Linked DNA regions of Homo sapiens: all the other regions are linked to region 3. Evidence: promoter capture Hi-C in human tissues and cell types (Jung and others, 2019). All regions are on one chromosome and are shown on one strand. The core of a region is centred on a gene start or on the middle of the fragment in contact, and the rest is flanking DNA. Distances in the headings are between cores, read along the strand shown.

Region 1 (4,142 bases), core at 577-3,076, 65 kb after region 3:
TCTGCATATGGTTAGCCTGTTTTCCCAGCAATATTTATTAAAAAGGGAATAATTTCCCCATTGCTTATTTTTGTCAGATTTGTCAAAAATTAGATGACTGTAGATATACGGTGTTATTTCTGAATTTTCTCTTTTGTTCTATTGGCCTATATGTCTGTTTTGGTACCAGCACCATGCTGTTTTGGTTACCGTAGCCTTGTAGTGTAGTTTGAAGTCAAGTAGCATGATGCCTCTAGGTTGTTCTTTTTGTTTAGGATTTTCTTAGCTATACAGGCTCTTTTTTGATTCCATGTAAAATTTAAAGAAGTATTTTCTAATTCTGTGAAGAATGTCAATGTAGTTTGAAGGGAGTAACATTAAATCTATAAATTACTTTGGGCAGTATGGCCATTTACATGATATTGATTCTTCCTATCCATAAGAATGGAATGTTTTTCCATTTCTTTGTGTCCGCTCTTATTTCCTTGAGCCGTGGTTTGTAGTCCTCCTTGAGAGGTCCTTCACATCCCTTGTTAGCTGTATTCCTAGGTATTTTATTCTCTTTGTAGCAATTGAGAATGGTAGTTAATTCATGATCAGGCTCTCTGCTTGACTATTGCTGGTATATAGGAATGCTTGTGATTTTTGCACATTGATTTTGTATCCTAAGATTTTACTGAAGCTGTTTGTCAGCTTAAGTTGTTTTTGGGCTGAGATGATGGAGTTGTCTAAATATAGAATCATGTCACTTGCAAAAAGGCAATTTGACTTCCTCTCTTTTTATTTGAATACTTTTTAAAAATATATTGCCTGATTGCCCTAGCCAGAACTTCCAAAACTGTATTGAATAGGAATGGTGAGAGAGGGCATGCTTGTCTTGTGCCGGTGTTCAACAGGAATGCTTACAGCTTTTGTGATTCAGTATAATATTGCCTATGGCTTTGTCACAAATAGCACTTATAATTTTGAGATATGTTTCATCAATACCTAGTTTATTGAGAGTTTTTAATATGAAGGAATGTTGAATTTTATCAAAGGACTTTTCTGCATCTATTGAAAGAATCATGTGGTTTTTGCCTTTGGCTCTGTTTATATGATGGGTTACATTTATTGATTTGCATATATTGAACCAGCCTTGCATCCCAGAGATGAAGCCAGCTCGATTGGGGTGTATAAGCTTTTTGATGTGCTGCTGGATTTAGTTTGCTAGTATTTTATTGAGGATTTTGACATCAATGTTCATCTGAGATATTGGCTTGAAGTTTTCTTTTTTTTGTTTTGTCTCTGCCATGTTGTGTTAGCAAGATGATGCTGACCTCATAAAATCAGTTAGGGAGGAGCCCCTCATTTTCAATTATTTGGAATAGTTTCAGAATAAATAGTGCCAACCTCTCTTTATACTTCTGGTAGAATTTGGCTGTGAATACATCTGGTCCTGGGCTTTTTTTGTTGGTAGGCTATTAATTACTGCCTCCATTTCAGAACTTGTTATTGGTTTAATCAGGGATTTGACTCCTTCCTGGTTTAGTCTTGGGAGAATGTATGTGTCCAGGGATTTATCCATTGCTTCTAGGTTTTCTAGTTTATTTACATAGAAGTGTTTATAGTATTCTCTGATGGTAATTTGTATATCTGTGGGGCCATTGGTGATATCCTCTTTATCATTTTTTATTGTGTCTATTTGATTCTTCTCTCCTTTCTTCAATAGTCTAGCCTGTGGTCTATCTATTTTGTTATTTTTTTCAAAAAAACTAGCTCCTGGATTCATTGATTTTTTTGAAGGGATTTTTGTGTCTCTATCTCCTTCAATTCTGCTCTGATCTTAGTTATTTCTTGTCTTTTGCTAACTTTTGGATTTGTTTGCTCTTTCTTCTCTAGTTCTTTTAATTCTGATGTCAGGGTGTTGATTTGAGATCTTTCCAGCTTTCTGATGTTGGCACTTCGTGCTATAAATTTCCCTTTTAACAATACTTTAGCTATGTCCCAGTGATTCTGACAAGTTGTCTCTTTGTTCTCATTGGTTACAAAGAATTTCTTGATTTCTGCATTACTTTTGTTATTTAGCTAGGAGTCAAGGAGGGGCGGGTTGTTCAATATCCATGAAACTGTGCGGTTTGAGTGAGCTTCTGAATCCTGAGTTCTAATTTGATTGCATTGACAAGGGCACTTATAACAGTTGCCCTTGTTTGTTATAATTTCCATTCCTTTGCATTTGCAGAGGAGTGTTTCACTTCCAATTATGGTTGATTTTAGAATAAGCCCCACGTGGCACTGAGAATAGTGTATATTCTTTTGATTTGGGGTGGAGAGTTCTGTAGACGTCTGTTAGGTCCACTTGATCCAGAGCAGAGTTCAAATCCTGAATATCCGTGTTAAATTTCTGTATTGTTGGTCTGTTTCATATTGACAGTTGGGGGTTAAAGTCTCCCACTATTATTGTGTGGGAGTCTAAGTTTCCTTGTAGGTCTCTTATAACTGGCTTTATGAATCTGGATGCTACTGTATTTGGTGCATCTGTATTTAGAATAGTTAGTTTCTCTTGTTGAATTGATCCCTTTACCGTCATTTAATGCCCTTGTTTTACTTTTTTGACCTCTGTTGCTTTAAAGTCTGCTTTATCAGAGAGTAGGATTGCAACTTCTGCTTTCCTTTGCTTTCCATTTGCTTGGTAAACTCTCCTCTATCGCTTTATTTTAGCCTCTGTGTGTCTTTGCGCATGAGATGGATCTCCTAAATATAGCACACTGATGGGTCTTCATATTTTATCCAATTTGCCAGTCTGTGTCTTTTAATTGGGGATTTCACCCATTTACATTTAAGGCTAAAATTGTTATGTGTGATTTTGATCCCGTCATCATGATGCTAGCTGGTTATTTTGCACACTAGTTGATGCAGTTTCTTCATACTATCATTGGTCATCATATTTTGCTGTGTTACTTCAGTGGCTGGTACCAGATTTTCCTTTTCATATTTAGTGGTTCCTTTGGGACCTCTTGAAAGGCAGGCCTGGTGGTGATGAAGTTCCTTATCATTTCCTTGTGTGGAAAGCATTTTCTTTCTCCTTCACTTATGAAGCTTAGTTTGCCTGGGTATGAAATTCTGGGTTGAAAATTCTTTTCTTTAAGTATGTTGAATAGTTGCCCCACTCTCTTCTAGCTTGTAGGGTTTCTGCTGAGATATCTGCTGTTAGTCTAATGGGCTTCCCTTTGTAGGTGACCTGAACTTTCTCTCTGGCTGCCCTTAATAGTTTTTCCTTCATTTCAACCTTGGAGAATCTGTTGATTATGCATCTTGGGGTTGATCTACTCATGAAATATCTCAGTGGTGTTGTCTGCATTTCCTGAATTTGAATGTTGGCCTGTCTTTCTAGGTTGGGGTAAGTTCTCCCGGATGATATCCTGAAGTGTGTTTTCCAACTTGGTGCCATTCTGAATGTCTTGTGTTTATGCATTATCCCATATTTCTCACAGGTTTTGTTTGCTTCTTTTTATTCTTTTTTCTCTAATCTTGTCTGCATGCTTTATGTCAGCAGGATGGCCTTCAAACTCTGATATCCTTTTGTCTGCTTGATATCTAATCTTGTCTACATGCCTTATTTCAGTAAGTTGATCTTCATTCTCTGATGTCCTTTCTTCTGTTTGATCAATTCAGCTATTGATACCTGTGTGTGCTTCAGGAAGTTCTCATGCTGTGTTTTTCAGCTCCATCTTGTCATTTTTGTTCCTCTCTAAACTGGTTATTTTAGTAAGCAGCTACAGTAACTTTTTATCCAGGTTCTTAGCTTCTTTACTTTGGGTTAGAACATGCTCCTTTAGCTCAACGGAGTTTGTTATTACCCACCTTCTGAAGACTACTTCGTCAATTCATCCATCTCATTTTCCATCCAGTTCTGCACCCTTCCTGGAAAGGTACTGCAATCATTTGGAGGAGAAGAGACATTCTGTCTCCTGGAAATTTTAGTGTTTTGCACTGGTTTTTTGCTCATTTTCATGGATTTACCTACTTTTGATCTTTGAAGCTGATGATCTTTGGAAGCGGTTTTTTGGGTGGGTATTTTTGTTGATGTTTTGATTGTTGTTGCTTTCTGTTAGTTTTTCTTCTAAGCCAGGCCCCACTTCTGGAGGTCTGCTATAGTTTGCTGGGGGCCCATTCCAGGCCCTGTT
Region 2 (4,607 bases), core at 2,108-4,607, 82 kb before region 3:
AAATGAAAAACATTTAAACAGGAAGAGAGGAAGTCAACATATCTCTCTTCATAGATGATAACATTCTATATCTGGAAAACCCCATAGCCTTTGTCCAAAATATCCCTGATCTGATAAACTTCAGCAAAGTTTCAGCATACAAAATCAATGTACAAAAAACAGTGGCATTTCCATACACCAATAGCAGCTAAGGTAAGAGTCAAACCAGGAACTCAATCCCATTCACAAGGACCATGACAAGAATACAGCTAACCAGGGTAGTGAAAGGTCTCTACAATGAGAGATATAAAACACTGATCAAAGAAATTGGAGATGACACACACAAATGGAAAAACTTTCCATGTTCATGGATAGGAAAAAATCAATATTGTTAAAATGGCCCTACTGCCCAAAGCAATTTACAGATTCAATAGTATTCCTAGGTCAAACTACCAATGACATTCCTCACATAATTAGAGAAAACAATTTTAAAATTCATATGGAATCAAAAAACAACCCAAATAGCCAAAGCAATCCTAAGCCAAAAGAACAAAGCTGGAGGCATTGCACTACCTGACTTCAAACTATACTACAAGGCTACAATAATCAAAACAGCATGTTACTGGTACAACAACAGACACATAGACCAATGGAACAGAATGGAGAGCCCAGAAATAATGCCGTACACCTACAGCCATGTGATTTTCACCAAAGTCTACCAAGATAATCAATAGAGAAATGACTTCCTGTTCAAAAAATGGTGCTGGGATAACTGTCTAGTCAAATGCAGAAGATTGTAACTGGAACCCTTCCTCAAATCACATACAAAAGTCAACTTTAGATGGACTAAAGACTTAAATGTAAAACATAAAACTATAAATACTCTGAAAACTAATTTAGGAAATGCCATTCTGGATATAGGACCTGGCAAAGATTTTACAACGAAGATGCCAAAATTGATTGCAACAAAAAAAAACCATAAATTAACAAGTGGAACCTAATTAAATTAAAGAGCCCTTGCAGCAAAAAAGAAATTATTAAAGGAGAAAACACAAACTACAGAATGGGATAAAATATTTGCAAATATGCATGCAACAAAATTTACTATCCAGAATCTACAAGAAATTTAATCAAATTAACAGAAAACAAACAACTCCAATAAAAAGTGGGCAAAGGACATGAATAGACCCTTTTCAAAAGATGACATTCATGTTGCCAATAAGCATATGGAAAAGTGCTCAACATCACTAATCGTTAGAGAAATGCACAACAAAACCGCAATGAGATATCATCTCATACCAGTAAGAATGGATATTATTAAAAAATCTAAAAATAACAAATGATGGTGAGGTTGCAGAGAAAAGGGAACGCTTATACACCCTTGGTAGGAATGTAGATTAGTTCAACCATTGTGGAAAGCAGCTTTGTGATTTCTCAAAGAACTTAAAACTGAACTACCATTCGACCCACCCATCTCAATATTACTTGTATACCCAAAGGAGTATACATTGTTCTATAGTAAAATAACCTGCACATGTATGTTCATTCCAGCACTATTCACAGTAGTGAAGACATGGAATCCACCTCCATGCCCATCAATAGTAGACTGGATAACAAAAATGTAGTACATATACACCACGAAATACTATGCATCCATAAAAAGACTGAGATTATGTCCTTTGCAGCAACATGGGAGAAGTGGAGGCCATTAGTCTAAGCAAAGCAACAAAGGAACTACAAACCAAATACTGCATGTTCTCACTTATAAGTGGGAGCTAAACATTAAGTACACATGGACACACAGACAGGAACAACAGACACCGGGGCCTACTTGAGGGTGGAAGGTGAGAGACAATGAGAAACCACCTACTGGGTACTATGCTTATTACCTGCATGACAAAATAATCTGTACATGAAACCTCTGTGACCTACAATTTACCTGTATGACAAATTTGCACATATACCCCAAAAACTAGAAATTAAAAAACATACTAAACGAAAGGGTTCAGGGAGCTTCTGTGTCAGCAAACACATTTACATACCCTGAGAGTGGCACACCCCAAGTCCACAGAGATGTTACCAAACGAAACTCAAGTCAGCCTGCCTGATACAGCAAAGTCAAATGCCGACATGCAGATTGCCGCAAAAGAAAAGGAGGAATTTATTACAGGGGGCCAAGCAAGGAGAAGTGGGCAGCTAATGCTTAAGATCTGAACTCTCTGATGGATGGCTTACAGGTAAGTTTTTAAAGGCAGGGAGACAGAGGTTACAGGCAAAGTCATAAATCAGTATATTGACATTATATATGGGCTTAACCTGAAAATATGGGACATCTCAAAGTCAGGGCCCACACATCTTAGGTAGAGTCAAACATTTTCTGATTTGTGATTGGTTAACGAGGCAAAGTTTTGTCTAAAAAATTGGAATCAGCAGAAAAGAATTTTAGCTCTCATCCATGGGTGTGACTTCCTCCAGGCCTCTCAGGAAGAAATTCAGAAGAAAAAGTGGTGGTCTGAGTTCTGTCCTCAGTTCCTCCTTATCTGAGGTCTATGTGCCAGTAGATCTATTTAGTGGGGTTCCAGGTTTCTGAAAAACAACTCATGAACATATGGAAAGATGTTATTTTAGTTTTTATAATGGAACTAAACATTCTGTGATTTTTAACTTCCTTGGCTATTGCATTAGGCAATTATTACCTTCTTACTTATGAAGTTGCTTGTTTATTTCTCAGTACTAGCTAGGTGCCTGGAATTTCCCTGAAGGAACTTAAGCTTTTCCTTTATCTCTGTACTTGGAGGAACTTGCAGGTCACTAAGAGGGGTCCCCGCTTCATCTCATGCCCCATTACCCAACTTCTGGGGAGGTGGGGGCTGTAGATTGAGTCAATTACCAATAGCCACATTAATGTCTATATAATGAAACCACCATAAAACCCATAATGAAAGGGTTCAGGGAGCTTCTGAGTTGGCAAACACATTTACTTGCCCAGAGGATTGCAGACCCCAACTCCACAGACAGGAGCTCGCGGGCTTGGGATTCTTCTGGAACTTCCCAGATGTACCTCTTCATCTGACTCTTCATTTGTATCCCTTATAATAAACTATAATAGTGAGTGTAGCATTTTCTTTATTTTCATGCTTCATTCTAGCCAGTTATATAACCTGAAGCAGAGTGGTTGTGAGAACCTCCAACTTTGTATCCAAATCAGGTAGAAGTAACCTGGATACCCCCTACTTGAGACTGACGTCTGAAGGGAAGGCAGTCTTGTGGGATTGATTTCTGCGACATCTGGAGTCTGATGCTCCAGACTGCAGTAAGTGTCAGGACTAAATTAAATAGTAAGACACTTAGTTGGTGTGAGAGTTGGAGAAGTAGTATTGGAAAAGACACTGTGAATTTGATTTCAAAAGAAAAAAAAGTTTCGCTATTTTTGTTTTGTTTCCAATTATTATAAAACTGGTTTATGTCTTACTTGGCACGGACAGAAATTCTTTACATGTCTGCTTGACATAACAACGTCACAGATTCTGGACCGTAATTTATGGTAAATGGCAAATCAAACACAGAAGCATTCACCCAGAGCACTAAATAGTCTTTGGGCAGAACTATTAAACACCAAAAGAACAGGCTACCCTGTCCTTATCTTATTTTCTTTTAGATAAGTTTTTATAATATTTAGACCAGAATCAACATTACTCTGCCTTAGAGGGATTTTTTTTTCTTTCAGAACAATCACAATAATGATATCAATGAACATGGATAGAGAATATACTATGGGCCAGATAGTCTCCCAGGTGGTTTACAAGTATTTTATTTATTCCTTTCAATAATGCTACAAAGCAAGCAATTTTATTATGCATCTTTTATAGGAAAGGAACATGAAGATCATGTTATCCAAAAATCATGAAATGGGTAAGGAATAGAAGCTAGATTCAAAACAAAACACAAAAACATTTAAACATTTAAACATGCAAAGTTGGGAATTGATTAGTTTATAGGCTATCAAAGCATTGTGACCCAGTTCAAAATAGTTGAAATTCCCCTTCAGATTTTTTTATAAAAGGCAGTATTTCTCAAAGTGTAATCCATAAGTATTCTGAATGATTCAGATGTTCCTCAACCTTTAAGAACCACAAATCTATGATGTGAACATCAAAGTTCTTTCACTCTGCTACCTCATGACAGTTAATATAAATATGGTATTTAAAACCGTTAGCATTGTTTACATTGCTATATTAATGTAGAAGTTCACAGAACAAACAGCTAATTAAAAGATTAAATAACACGCATGTAAATGCATGTAAAATGCCGAGCATATTCACTAGCATGTAGAAATGTTCAATAAATGAAATATATTATTATTATCATGATACAATTACAGAAAATTAAAAACTTATTTCAGGTAATTAAGTCATATTTATTCAGTTCAGGGATTGTCAATGATCAGAATTCTGGATTTTGTCTTTACTAATTCATTGCACTTGCTATCCTTAGCCAGGGACATATCTGTTCATCTTCCCAATCACAGTCGTTTTGCTTTTACCAAAACTTGGATGCTAAATTAGTTCACTACATATATTCACCCTTAGGAAATACTGAAATCTGTATTCCCTTGCCAAAGGTGATTT
Region 3 (4,300 bases), core at 428-2,927:
GTGACATTTGCACATACCCAGGGCAATAGTAACATAGAAACCATGAAAATCATCATCAGATTTCATGACACTGTGGTACTGTGCACAGGCCCAGAGCAATAGTAACACAGAAGTTATGAAATTCATGGTCATATTTCATGACACTGTGATACTGTGCACATGCCTGAGCAATGCCAACACAGAAATTATGAAAATCATGATGAGATTTCATGACACTGTGATACTCTACACCTGCCAGAGCAATAGTAACACAGAAACCATGAAAATCTTGTTGAGAAATTGAGAAGTCACTGAGGGAGATGATGGAAAAGAGACACTGAGTGGCCAGAATTTGATCAAAAAAGTTGTAAAGCATTATGTATCAGACAGCATGTGTAATCCACTGTGTAATCCACTGAGGTTGCTAAACTGACTTTACCCTTTTGTAATAGGAATGATCAGGAAACAACACAAAACAACAAATCTCTCATATTAGCAAAAATGAGCATAGCAACTTTATATGTAATATAAAAATGCAACCTGCATGTGCACTAACGATGGAATTTATAAGCATAACTACAAGAAGTAGCATTGATGAGTCTCACAAATAGAATGTTGAATGAACAAAGTAGATCACAAGGAATGCCCTCATGAATCCTATTATGAGTAATTTAAACACACATCTAAAAATCACTTATGAAGCACAGCAATACTGGAATAATGACTACCTACAAAATGGGCCTGAAAAGTTATATAATCAGAGAGAGTTAAACTGTTTTTCAAAGGCACTGGTAATATTTTAAAGCATTTTACAAAATGTATATCTAACATATTTTTGTAAATAAACATTTTATACTCTGAAGTTTAATAAAATATTTTAAAAATAGGTGTAAACGTCTTAAAAGAATACATGACAAATGTAAAGCATTCATTAATACGGGTTGAGGATTCCTTATCCAAAATGCTTGGGACCAGACGTGTTGCAGATTTCAGATTCTTTTTCACACTTTGGAATATCTGCATAGCTAATAATGAGATTTTTTTGGAATAGAACCAAGTGTAAGGAAAAAATTTATGTTCTATGTATACCTTATACAAATAGCCTGAAGGTAATTTTATGCAGTATTTTAAAACAATTTTGTGTATGGGAGAAAGTTTGTGAACCATCAGGAAGCAAAAGTGTCACCATCTCATGTCAGCACTGAAAAGGTTCTGATTTTGGAGTGCTTTGGGTATTAGATTTTGGTTTAGGAATTCTCATCCTGCATGAGCTAAAATTATTAAAAGAAAAGAGAACGTGGCCAAAATTTTCAAATCATTGTTTATGGTTCTCATCTGCTACTCTTCTCCTCTGACATCTATTCACTGTCAATTTCTTTTTCAAATCTGGAATACCAGGACATGGAAAAACAAAAGTAATGGATTTTATCCAATCTTTCACACTGATAAGCTGGAGCAAGTAACCACTCCTTCTGCCTCAGATTGTACCACATTTCTCAAAGTAATATTGTACAGATAAAATAGAATAATGTTTATAAAATTCTTAGCACAAAAAATGACTTAAGAAATGAGATCAATCATCACCATGTTCAGCAGAAATTTCAGCACTAGCTTATACAAAGTCATGCTTGCGCTTGGTTAACTTACCTCTTAGTACTTACCTGAATAGTGTATATTTTCAGTGAGATTGTGGTTTCCTGGAAAGGCAAAAATATATAAATATCTTACAGGTTTTATGTTTCCATAATAAGAAAAAAAAGCACCTAACGTACAGTTGGAATCTTTATGGTTATTGAAAAATAAATGAAAAGACAAAAACTTAAATTTTCAGCCCTTGGGGAATCCATTCCCTTGTCTTTAATTTTAAAAGTTTGTATTTCCTTCTGTCTCCTCTCCTAGGACATGAAGCCGAATTAGCTTCCTTTTCTTGAAAATACTACAAAGATAATTACGCCTCCTTCCTTGTAGATTAGGGTGAACTTTCTGAAACTTCCCCCTCTCTCTCACATGATGAGGTGAAACACACTAAGTGCTTTCTGTGTAACTGGCACTATGTTTAAAAAAAAAAGGTTTGTAAATTAACATAATACTTACAACCATTGTGTATGCCAGATACCCCTATTAGACACATGTATATATTATTATATAATATATTTAATTATATTGTCGTATGTTTTACATGTGAAACTGAGGGCAGAAGTAAATTGACGTCTCAGAGCTAGAGAATGGCAGTCAGGGTGTTCCAGGCTAATATCATTCCTCTTCCATGGTTTCTCTTCACTCTTCCTTCTGCTCCATCATCAAAGCAAGATATGTTTGGGTAGAATTGGCATTTTTAACATCTTAAAGTTCCCTACATAATTCTAATTCTATTTGTATGTTCTTTAGTATGTTTTCTATCCCTTAAAACGCCTGTATATATTTTCTGTCAAAGTCATTATAAAATTGAAATGTTTATAGGTATTTTATATTTCGTTGCTCTAGTGTATGGATTATTGTTTCTATTACATCTTCTATTTGTTTTTGTTAATATATAGAAATCTGTTAATTGTTGCTTATAGACCTTGAATCCAAGAATGGTAATTTTTTTGTATTCCTTAGTGAAGAGAAAAATATTACATACAATGGATGAAACAACTTTATATGTCTTTCCAATTTTATCTATTTTCCTTGCATCATTTGATTAAAATATATATATTTAAAATGTTGAAGAACAATATTCTTGAGTACCTGAAGCCTTTAGCGATATAGTTCACCATGACATATAGTGTTTGTTTGAGGTTTTGGTAGGTGTATTCAGCACATTAGCAAAATCCCATTGTATTTCTTTTACCAATGCTTTCTTCAATAAATGTTCACTGAATTGTATTGAATGATATCCTGTTTTTACTGAGATAATGTTATTGTTTTTCTTAAATTGTTCATAGCCTGAATTACAAGGATAGCTATTTGTATATTTAGAAATATTTCAGTGGATGACAATGTATAAAACAAATAAAACACCAATGTACCCATCACCAGCTTAAAATAAAATATTACAGGCTGGGCATAGTGGCTCACGCCTGTAATCCCAGCACTTTGGGAGGCCAAGGCAGGTGGATCACTTGAGGCCAGGAGTTCGAGACCAGCCTGGCCAATATGGTGAAACCCCATCTCAACTGAAAATACAAAAATTAGCAGGGCATGGTGGCTCAGGCCTGTCCCACCTACTCAGGAGGCTAAGGCAGGATAATCGCTTGAACTTGAGAGGTGGAGATTGCAGTGAGCTGAGATTGCGCCACTGCACTCCAGCCTCAGCGACAGAGCAAGACCCCATCTCAAATATAAAATATACCATATAAAAATAAAACAAAATAATAAATAAAATATTACAGATTAATAGATGTCTGTGCGCACATAACCTGAATGTATGTTATTTATTATTTGCCTCTAGAGATAACAGAAGCCTACATTTTTGGTTAAATACTCTCCTTTCTTTATTTTAGAAGTAAATGTTTCATCCTTCCAGCTAAATTCCAGTACTTCGAAAGAGGTAAAACAATGATGTACTGGGACAAAAGTGCAGCAATATACATTTGTTTGAAAGACTGGTAAAATAAATAAAACTCTTAAAAAACCATAAGCCTATTCTGAATGCCCAAGAAGTCCTGGAATACAGAATGGCTTCCTCCTTCACTATTTCTCAAGAAGTGCTGTGGCTATTTGCTTCAGATTGTCCTGGGATTACTTTCTCAATCAGTTATTACTGGTTATGTCCTGGTTGTAGTACACAATTAAAATCTCACTAATGTCCTCTGCATTGTCATTCTAGTTTTATTTAAGCAACCAGCGAAATATGTTCTAAACATGTTTTAGAATACCCCCTTTAATCCTTTTCAAACATGTTAAAATAAGGAGCCAAAACTGTATTAATATAGGTAGCAAAGGTCCACATTAAGTGGTGCTGAAATCGGGGAAATGTCCAAAACCAGTTGCTAGGGTGTAAGAGTGGGTGCCATTGTCAAAAGCTTGCAAAAACCTGTATTTACCGAGGGATACCGGCATTGTATCAGGTCAAAATTGGGACCCTTTGCAATAAGTCAGCAGGAATAAGGCAGCGGCAAATGCAGAATGTGTGAGTCATGAAACGTAAGAGCCAGCGCCAGAGTGTCACATTATTTCACCAAGCGTGAACTTCACAAATGCATCATCCTGTTCTGCCAGTTTTGTGTTTGATTTCTTCATGCTCTTCTCGAATTTTCTCATCACATTCTTTCAGAAAACGTTCACAGACCTACTCACCCTGCCCTAGAGTAGACAAGGCCTGTCTTTATTTAATGGT

Evidence for each region. The method cuts DNA at HindIII sites, captures the fragments that hold promoters and counts their contacts. A contact is called where the count stands out against the background at its distance.
Region 1: a fragment that was not itself captured here is called in contact with the fragment with the promoter of OR2M3 in region 3 in 3 of the 25 tissues and cell types used here (neural progenitor cells, pancreas and small bowel).
Region 2: a fragment that was not itself captured here is called in contact with the fragment with the promoter of OR2M3 in region 3 in 2 of the 25 tissues and cell types used here (adrenal gland and liver).

The regions. Positions count from the first base shown.
Region 1 is chr1:248,129,467-248,133,608 of GRCh38, reverse strand. No RefSeq gene overlaps it. Among named protein-coding and RNA genes, the nearest start is that of OR2M5, 14 kb to the left of the region's middle. The HindIII fragment of the contact is 6,525 bases long and covers 1-4,142 here.
Region 2 is chr1:248,277,974-248,282,580 of GRCh38, reverse strand. It overlaps OR2T33 (olfactory receptor family 2 subfamily T member 33), which reads left to right and starts at 4,605. Exons shown (of 2, transcript NM_001004695.2): 1 at 4,605-4,607. The HindIII fragment of the contact is 7,061 bases long and covers 1-4,607 here.
Region 3 is chr1:248,194,642-248,198,941 of GRCh38, reverse strand. OR2M3 (olfactory receptor family 2 subfamily M member 3) reads right to left here and starts at 1,677. Exons shown (of 2, transcript NM_001004689.2): 1 at 1,641-1,677. The HindIII fragment of the contact is 15,210 bases long and covers 1-4,300 here.